2 separate regions of the Homo sapiens genome follow, and region 1 is linked to region 2. The links are contacts of gene promoters, found by promoter capture Hi-C in blood cells and fetal thymus (Javierre and others, 2016). All regions are on one chromosome and are shown on one strand. The core of a region is centred on a gene start or on the middle of the fragment in contact, and the rest is flanking DNA. Distances in the headings are between cores, read along the strand shown. Region 1 overlaps COBLL1 (cordon-bleu WH2 repeat protein like 1). Region 2 holds the start of SLC38A11 (solute carrier family 38 member 11).

What was found. Contacts are between HindIII fragments. The CHiCAGO score rates a contact against its expected background, and 5 or more counts as called.
Region 1: a fragment that was not itself captured here is called in contact with the fragment with the promoter of SLC38A11 in region 2 in 1 of 17 cell types (total B cells); the score reaches 5.6 in total B cells.

Annotation. Positions count from the first base shown.
Region 1 is chr2:164,694,008-164,699,123 of GRCh38, forward strand. It overlaps COBLL1 (cordon-bleu WH2 repeat protein like 1), which reads right to left. Exons shown (of 14, transcript NM_001365672.2): 12 at 262-1,829. Among named protein-coding and RNA genes, the nearest start is that of SNORA70F, 8.8 kb to the left of the region's middle. The HindIII fragment of the contact is 5,570 bases long and covers 1-4,739 here.
Region 2 is chr2:164,953,244-164,958,336 of GRCh38, forward strand. SLC38A11 (solute carrier family 38 member 11) reads right to left here and starts at 2,282. Exons shown (of 12, transcript NM_001351537.2): 1 at 1,966-2,282; 2 at 1,388-1,502. The coding sequence starts at 2,004. The HindIII fragment of the contact is 8,780 bases long and covers 1-5,093 here.

The DNA.
Region 1 (5,116 bases), core at 705-3,204, 260 kb before region 2:
AGCAAAGAAACTTTAAAACATTTGCTAATGACACAATTATATAATGATGACCTTACAGTAATACCTAAACAAGTTATATAAGTTATAATTGTGAGCAAATAATCAGATTTTATGTATCACCACTCTCTTCACTACAATAGCTTAATTTCAGATGAATATGAGTTCAGAGTTAAGTAGCACACAAACATCAACATGCTTGTTAACCCCCATTAAACCATGTCATTAAATTTGAATACTTATTTTTAAAAAGGCTACAGTTACCTTATCAGACACACCAAGCTGTGGGATGTCCACAAATTTATTTACAGAATGAGTCTTCCCTTCCTCTGTGTTGGCTGGAGGTTGGACCAATGCACTGGCACTAGGTGACTCGGTGCGCTCTTTACTGAAAGACTGTGACCTTTTCACTACAGCAAGAGCAAACGGTGAAGGACCAGAACTTGAGTATGGTCGTGGGGCACCAAAAGTTTTCAAAGTCTTCAGATTTTGTGTGGATACCTGACTAGCAGGAATTGTCACAGGTTTTGGAGCTATGGGAGGAGGGGAGGCTTCAGCAGGAGCCTGACCGATGACATCATCATCAGTTTTTTCAACAAGGGGTTGTGGAACAGAGTGAGGCATTTTACTTAAGGGAGAAAGAGTCTGCTCCGGAGAAGGCAGCATATCCCTTTCTGCCTCTTTATTTGTCAGTTCTTTTGGAGCAGGATTAGGGGCAGCATGGACACTCTTGGCAGCTGCAGATGTCACATAGTGACCCGATACTCTCTTCTGCATCTGCAAAAAAAAAGAGCTGGGTTTGGCCTGGGCATTTGAAGCCCGAGATTTAAATTTTGATTCCAAAATATTGTTTATTTCTTCCAAATTTGGTGCAAAAGGAGCTGTGCCAGTGTCTCTTGTCATTTTGGGAGCAGGTTTCAGAGGACTAACCATGGCATCATCAGGTGAGCTCACAGAACTGGGCACTTGATGCTCTGTTCTCAGGTTAGGCTTCGGTTTAAGGTTTGGCAGTGGCTCTTCTGGGCTTTCAGAAATAGCAGAATCTTCTGTTTGGATGGCAGTTTCTTTCACATTCTCATGAGTGTGCTTTTTCCCTAAAGCATGCATGTCCTGATCATCTTTATACTCTATGGTTTCTGATTGCCAGTCTTTCGATATTTCCAAGGATTTGGGAGGCACTATTTTATAAGTAGTCATGCCAATTTTGGGTATATACTCTCGTGTAATTTCATTTGAAGGTTTTGGCTTGGGATTGTAGTCCTGTCTATAAAGTGGGTAATTCTTTAGGTAAGAAGCAGTGGAATTTTTGTCAATCCTATCTACAGGAGGCAAAAGATCATCATTACCATGTGCACAAATTGGATCTTTTACGGTAAGCGGATCTTCTGAATGTATAATTAGGGTGCCTTGACTCCTGAATTCCCTTGAGGTATTTACAGAATCTTGTGAACTTAAGCATGAGTGTTGAGTTGATATGTTGTTATTTGAAGTTTGCACACATTCTTCAACTTTGGAGTCAGATAAATTATGATCTTGGTGTTTCCCATCAAAACTGTTACAAGAAGGGGTTGTCTGAATTGCTGCATCTTTTGTCTTTTCTGCACTGGGTTGATTCAGTTTTTGATCTGGTACTGATGAAGCTGCTAGATGGTTTTCCTTGTAACTTATAGCAGTATCAGTTTCATGTGCCTCAGAGTTTGATGGTCTCTCAACTTCCATATCAATGTTGTTATTTTTGGCAACACCTTCTACATTGATTTCTGTTTTCTTCACTCCATTTTTCATATTGTCTTCTGTGTTCTCTGGATAGACAATTATTTCATTTTGAACTACTGAGAGAAAAAAATCATCAAGTTAAATATATGAAAGAAGTAGAAAACCTCAAGTTTTTAATGCCTACTTTCTCCAACCTGAAATAGTTTGGTTTGAATTCTACAGATAATTTTCAACTCACTGACTATATAAAGGTAGGTAGTAGCATACAGAGAAAACAGTACGTGCTTTGGATTCATACAGACTGAAGTTTGGAATCCCTGGCTTAACTAGTGTGGCCACAACATGTTAATTAACCCCTTTGAGCCTCAGTTTGCTCAGACATAAAAAGGTGAAAATATTTATATTATATGTGTATCATTTAGATAGCATGCTCATTAGTATATTGACCAGAATAAACACTCCATAGAAGGTAAATAAAGTTTTTACTTCTTAGAAGATGTCATTCAGTCATTGTTCATGACAAAAAATAGAAATTGACAAATTCAAAAACTGTATTTTTCCTCTATTTTGACTGTCTTTTCTATAGCCCCTAGCATATTTATATTTTCATACCTAACATTAAAAGGAAAAGAATCCCAGCAAATGCAGTTTTAATGAAGGCCTTAACAGAAAACATTAAGATTTATAGTAAAAACAGAATCTCAGTTGATTGTCTTGTTAACTAGGTATCTTTGCTGAAGGCTGTTAGAGGACTTTATTTTTAGTTATAACATGGGTGATTTCAATGACATGAAATCAGTCATAATGGTTTTGATTTTTCTCTGTTGGAAATAGGCATCCTTATTCTACAGTCAGAGTCAAAATCAAAGTAGAGAAAATAACCTTCCTCTCCCTTGCACTACTTTTCCTCTTGATTCTAATTCAGACCTCCTGAAAACAAAACTCATTTGCCAGTGTCTAGGTTAACAGAGCAACAGCTTCCAGTCAACAACATGATGGCAAAGCACTGGCAGGAGGCATGTGGAAGGAAACAGGGTTTGGAGTCTGCACCATGTGCCCAGTACCGAATTAAGTCATTCCTCTGCTCCTCTATTCAAATGCCCTGAAGAATCATGCTTCCTGCACCATCACTGTGCTTATCTTCAAAACCCTAGTGGCCTTTTCACATATGGCAATAGTTTGCACAGCACAAGTTAAATGTGAGCCTTGGGGGTCAAACTGTGAAATTATGTCAAGTTATTTCTCTATAGTTTTATCATTACCCACTATTACCTATAAGAATGAGATGAAGTACACTGCCTAAAATGTAATAAGCTATATTATATAGTTTCTCTCTTAAAAAAAGAAAAAGAAAAAAGATATGCATGCAGAAAAATATCATGTTAGGTAAATTTGTATACAATTTAAAAACATATCTTCACATTTTTAAACTCTGCCTGATTGCACAGTTATTTGGTTGTGGCAGTTAATATTCTATATTGTGTTGCAAGATTCCTATATTAAACATGTAATTTTAAAATGGAACTCATTTTTATTCTTCCCAGATAAAATGCAACTGAGTATCAGAATACGTACCATCTACTTAGGTGAATTCTTTTCTCAATGACCAATTATTATTAACTATTTTGATTTACAAAATTAAAGACCCATGTTCTTAGGAACCATAGAAGAGGCACATTTCTGCCTCTGCTCTCAATTTACTTGGTTCATAAGTATTTTTCAATGTTCATATGAAAAACACTATTTTGAACAGTTATAAGCATGAAAGAATTTAAGAAACAATCTCTGGCAGCAGGAAATGAGTCTAAATGTATTTCCTTCTTTCTTTCTTATTTCTAATTTTCCACTGAGTATATGTATTTCCCAGAAATATTTTCCAAAAGAAAGAAAGTCAATGTAAACATATATTTTAAATTGAATCCCCGTTTAAAAACCCTAATTTATTGGTTTTAGAATTATAAGTCTCTCTTTTTCATATTTTTGGTAGGTTACACCTACTTTACCATTGTCTAACTCTGAATTTCTTCTCAACATTTCATGATCATTTCCAGTGATTGGCAGTCCTGGAAACCCAGAATCCATCCTCATATACAACTGACAATGATGTTAACCAAGTGTTTATAAATGGCTAGATCATTTTCCAAGAATGGCCAGTAGAGGGAGAAGGTATCTTTTATACTATAGTGACCCTCTACTCAAAAGTGACACTGACATTGACAAACTTACAAGAAGGTGATTTAGATAAGGGTAGGTAAAAAGGAAAACAGAATAAAACTACTTTAAGAATAATAGACATTATTTACTTTAAAAAACAACTAGAGTTGACAAAAGTCGTAGCAAAACAAACCATATGCAAATCAAAGTACTACGTAAATGTACTTGTGACTCTGGCACTAACTTGACAACAAAAGTCTTAACAAAAATGATACAACTTGACTATTGTTTTAAAGAGAAAGAAGCAGCTTTTAAATCATAATTTCTCAATAGGAATGCTATTGCCATCACAGTACATGCTGTGAAAAACTGACTCAAGTGGAAAAGAATGAAAAAATTATTTGCTTTTAGACCTTCTCAGTATGATATCTCACAATGGTATTGAATGTGGGAGAAAATGAATCAGTAGCACACATAATCAAGTTAATGAACACATACCACACACATACAATTATATATATATATAATTATATATATAAGTATGACATTGCGATTATCTATGTCTTATTCAAATATGAATACTACATCCTAAGTTTTCTAAATATCTTAACCTAGTTTTCTAGATTAACATAATAGATTGGACTATGAGAATTCATAAGCCACTTCCTTCTTAACCCCTTAAAACACCATTGAGTATTTTTTGAATTTTCTATTTGCATAGGATTGTTTTTCTGAAATTCAATACTAAGTACATATTTTATGAGTATCTCAGGATTCTGTTAGGTGCCATGAGTAGTGCAAAGTATCACATGTAATTTATCTGATCCAAGACTGCCTAATTCAGTTGAGGAATCATAAATATAGAACCGCAAAGCTTCTAATAATCAAGTAAAAACATGAAATGATATGATTTGGATAAAAATTGAATGGGTAAAATAGATGAAAAATTGTCTTTCAGACAAAGACAACATGAATATATGCCTTATGATATAGAAATAAGCAAATGACATCATGAGAAAAAATAAGTTGTGCTAATATGAGGATGGGAACTGGGAAACAGTGGTAAATAAGGTTATATTATTAGATGATTTGGGCCTTGAAAAATCAGGCAGAAAAGTTTCATCCAAGGAAGTTAGATGGAAAAAAAGAGAAACAGATCGCAAATAGATACACAGAAGAAACATTTTTAAGATCCAAAGTCTAAATTAGATAATTTCTATGTTTTAACAACAAAAGTAGTACACATGGT
Region 2 (5,093 bases), core at 1,032-3,531:
AAAAATGAGAGAAAAATGAGAAGGCGAAAGTATTTTTTATAATGCTCAAAGGGGTACATAAATTATTTCTTATAATTTTGGGGGAAATTGACAACTTTAGATTATGGACAATAAAATATTTAAAACAAACACAGTTAACGTATTTCCAGTCAAAATTTTTATTCTCTGAAAAGTTTTCCCTTAAAGAAAAGAAAACAAGCTGCTGAGCAGTGGTACTGTTTAGCATTGCTGACACGGCTTAACTTAACACGTTCACATCAGGAATTAGCTCTAGAATTCTTCTAAGTACAGCTGCTCATACCTTCATGGTACATGGAGGTAGAATTGTAAACAAGTCTTTGTCCCTGTTTCCTTCTACTTTACCTCAGGTAACTCCATTTTATGTATCATTTGGAGAAAAAAAAAAGACTATCCATAGAAAAATGTAAAATCAAGAACCATATTAACTTGTGAAAAGTAAGAAAAGTAATTCAAGAGTAAGAAAAGTAACTCAATCCAGATAAATGTTTAATTTTCAGAAGGTGATGACAGAAACAAAAATGTTGCAACTTTATAAAACATTGTATTCTCAAAAAGTATTGCATTTTGCAGGATTTTGTTTTCTTCTTGTCTTTTCTGAGATAGAGTGTTTTCAGATACCAAAAAGAATAATAACCACTGAAAATATAGCTGCTTTTATTACTATAATGCAATGCACTTTTAACTTTTTTCAGTAAATTTCCCTTGCTTCTAATACAATGGAAAAATCTGAGCTATTTATTTATTTTAATTCTGATTGTATGGCTCCTTTATTAGGAAAATAATACGCATTTTCAATGAACAAATTTGCATTGTTGACTAAATAATATTTAAAATTAATATATTGTAATAATTTTGTACTTTAAAATTTAACACTGTATAGATAGGTAAAGAATGTATGAATTTAATTTTTCATAAGATTGGTATGTTTTCATATTAAACTTTTCACCTCCAACATTTACAAATATCTGGAAGTTTTATACTTCTAGAAAGTTAAAGAAAGATGATTCAAATAATGATGGACCCTTCAGTAAGTGGAAAAAGTACATTCGGTAACACTAGCAATCAACCACGCAGCCTACAGAAAAATGATTCACCACCACCCATATGCAGTTTCACCTTAATCTACCACATGTGGAAGATGCTCTCAACTGTGGAAACAGTGTGAATTACAGCCCCATCTTCAGCATAAAAGACATGCATACATACTGTTACACTAGAAAAAAAGGAAGCCTTTTATGGAAGAAAATTACCAATTTTCTTATTTAAGTCTTTTTTTCTTTAAAAATAATTAATGAACACTAGCAGCGTAGCGAGTCTTAAATTTTGCCCTTTCACTTAAAATTTAAACCAAAGCAAATACACTTACCTATTATACCAGATCCTATAATCGAGTTGACAACATTAAAAAGAGCAGCAGACTGACAGGTTTTCTCTTTATACTCATGTTCAGAAACAAGGGTTTCTCTGTCATCTAAATCTCTCTAATAGATAAAATAGCAATTATAAGCAAATACTAGTTCAGAAAATTAGAAAAGTAACAAATATGTAATGCAGGATACTAACACGATTTTCTAGTAATAATAAGTAATGTCACTAATGAAAATAAAATAAATGCCGGGATAACAGTAATAAAGAATAACAATAACAGCTAGTAATTCAACAGAGCTTGGTAAGCAAACTCCATCCTAAAATTTCCAGATTACAGCTGCCCCAGCTGCTAAGTACAGGATCTGTTAGGAATTCAGTGATGTGATTTTGTGAAATTAAAGTGCCTGCTAAGAAAAAAAAAAAAAAAAGTCAGATTAAGGCAAAACTTTTTGTCCCAGAGAACTTTTCGCGGTGCTAAACCAAGAGCCCAGGTGAAGGTAGGTGACCTGACCTGTTGCAAGGTGAATGAAATTTCCGGACAACTGGCTTCAGAACCTGCCTAGTCGCTAGTTTTACCTGCGGCGGGATGACAGGCTCCTGCCTCTGGTAGCCCATGGCTGAGCGGTGGTCCTCAGCAGGTGGAAGATGCTGGGGCTGGGTACGGATTCGCACCCGGCCAGCCTCCTCCGCCACCTCGCACACAGCCGAGGTCCGCGTGTAGCCGCAGAGCTGCAGGGAGCCAGTTCCACGGGCGCCCCCTGCTCCCTCGGCAGGCCGCGAGGGCTGCAGCCCCAAGATCTCTAGGCTGTGGCAGCCTGGGGCGCTTTTCCACCGGAGTTCGCCCAGACAAATGTATTTTTCCTCCGGAGACGGAGATGCTGCAGGATGTTTCTGATCCGGGCAGCCCTGTCTCCCCGCCTCCCCCCTTCACACCCCCGCCTCCCTGAGAGAACAGGGAGAGCTACTCTTCCCTGGAGCTGCAGAGGACAACTTGTTCCACCCACGCTGCCCTGCCCCGATCTCACAGAGTTATGACCGCCTCGTTGCAGTCCGTTCCTAAGTTAGCTTCTCCTTTGCTGGGGTCTGAAGCCCAGGTAAGAACGCAGAAGCACCCTTGGGCCCATGGGCCATCTTCCCTATTAGCACCTCCTCCTCGCTACCCCTCTTCAATGGCAGAGACGACGAGTGAAAATTTGGGACTTTTATTGTAAATGGAAATGGAAAGACTCATAAGAAAATGAATAGCAAAACAAAAAACTTTCCTAGGGTTTTAGCAAACTTGACTACTGAGCATGCTTTGGTCAAACGCTTCCTGGTAACTTTTAGAAAAAGGAGCGATAGAGAAAATGAAGGTGGATTGTTACTGCATTCAGGTAATGAACCTTGAAAAGGGAAAGAGGAGTACAAGGGTTTGGGAAAGGGGTGGCACCTACAGTGCCTGAGCTAGAAAGAATCTTCAATGACCACCTATTCAGTCCTCTTACATTACAGATGAAGCAACAAGCCCAGAGAGTATTCAATATCAGAGACAGAATGCATGAGACAACAGTTTCAGGGGCAATAAGAGCGGTGATATGCCATCATACTTAACAAATTCTGCCTTCCCTTGATATCCATAGGGGATTGGTTCTGGAACCCCTGCAGATACTGAAATCCAGGAATGCTCAGGTCCTTGATAGTAAACAGCATGGTATTTACATGTAACCTAGGCACATCCTCCAGCATACTTTAAATCATCTCTAGATTATTTATAATACCTAATACAATGTAAATGCTATTTACTTGTTGTTATACTGTATTGTTTAGGAAATAAGAAAAAAGTCCATATGTGTTCAGTATAGACACATCCATCCTAGCCCTAACTACATTTTTGATCTGGGATTGGTTTAATGCATGGATGCAGAAGTGGGGATATAGAGGCCAACTGTACCTAATTAAAGAGGTTCTGTTTCATACATGTTTACTTATAATTAAGAAAAAAAATTAAAAACCGTGGGAAAACAAAAGACTTATAAACTTTATATACACTCTGCCATCAAATGTTAACATGCTGTCATATTTTCTTCAAATTGTAAAAGTAAACACAATGTCACAATAGGAACCCCCTTGACCTTCTCCATTCCTTTCCCCAGGCCTTCAGCCCTGGAGTCATCGGTTCATCAAGTTAGTGTTATCTTTGCTATTCATACTTTGTATTTTAATCCGTTCATTTATAGCCATAAACAATATATAACATTGGCTTTTGTATTTTCAACATTTACAAAGATGGTGCCATATTGTACATGTTATTTTTCCACTGGCATTTTTGTTTTCAGCATGTATGATGTAGATATATGCAGATTTTTTTTTCATTTTATCTAACAGTTAAGTCAGCCTTCCCCTACTGAAAGATATTAAGGTTGTTTCTCGTTTTACACTCTTCCAGAGCATAAAAGTGACAATTTCTCTAGATGTAGAAGTGTTAGGTAGTAGGTCATGCACACTTTCAACTTCATTATCATTATTATTATTATTGAGATGGAGTTTCGCTTTTGTTGCCCAGGCTGGAGTGCAATGGTGTGACCTGGGCTTACTGTAACTTCTGCCTCCTGGGTTCAAATGATTCTCTTGCCTCAGCCTCAGGAGTAGCTGGGAATACAGGTGCCTGCCACCACGCCCGGCTAAGTTTTTGTATTTTTAGTAGAGATGGGGTTTCACCATGTTGGCCAGGCTGGTCTTGAACTCCTGACCTCAGGTGATCCACCCTCCTCGGCCTCCCAAAGTGCTGGGATTACAGGTGTGAGCCACTGTGCCTGGCCTTCATTAAATATTTTTGAATTGCTTTGCAAATTGATAACATGAATTTCACTTCTACCAACAGAGGTGAAATTCTTGTTTTTCTACATTGTCTGTAACACCAGGACTTACTTAATCTATTTTTTAAGTTTAATTGTTCTGCTGGATTTTTAAGTGGTGTATAATTATTGTATAGATTTGTATTTTATCCTAATTTACATTGAGGTGGAAGATCTTTTATATAGTAATTAAATATTTCCATTGTTCTGTTTGTGAATTTCATTTTTTTTTGCTCTTTTGATTTTGGTTGTGAATTTTTTCTATTGATTTGTAAGCATAATTTATATATTTGGGGTGGCAACCCTGTGTCAGTTATATGTTTTGTACATATCTTCTCCCATCTTCTCTCTTTCAAATTTTTTTTTAATTCTGTGAAGTTACAGTTTTAATATTAGTAATCTTAATCCTGATACAAGTGCATTGAGAAGGAAAAATTATAACCCTATTTTACTCAAAAATATATATATGCAAAAATTCCAAGGAAAATATTAGCAAATTGAATCTGTCTGTTCACGAAAAGTTAACAATATCATAAAAAAGTTGAATATAGTCCAACTATGAAAGGATGGCTTAGTTAACAAAAAGTTTATAAATATAATTTCCAACATTAGCAGGTAAGAAAAAGCCATGTTATTATTTCACTATATTCAGGAAAAACACTTGATAATGTTGAATTCTTGATTTTAAAAAAACTTTGTAAATCAAAAATATAATACAACTTCCTGATAGTGATAAACTATAGCAAAGTATTTTCGTTATGGGGAAGTTTTGGAAGCATTCCCATTTAATCAGAAGTGAAAAAAATCAATGATTGTGACTTTTATTTAACTTGATATTGGAGTTCCTAAAGTAATAAGAAATAAAAGAGA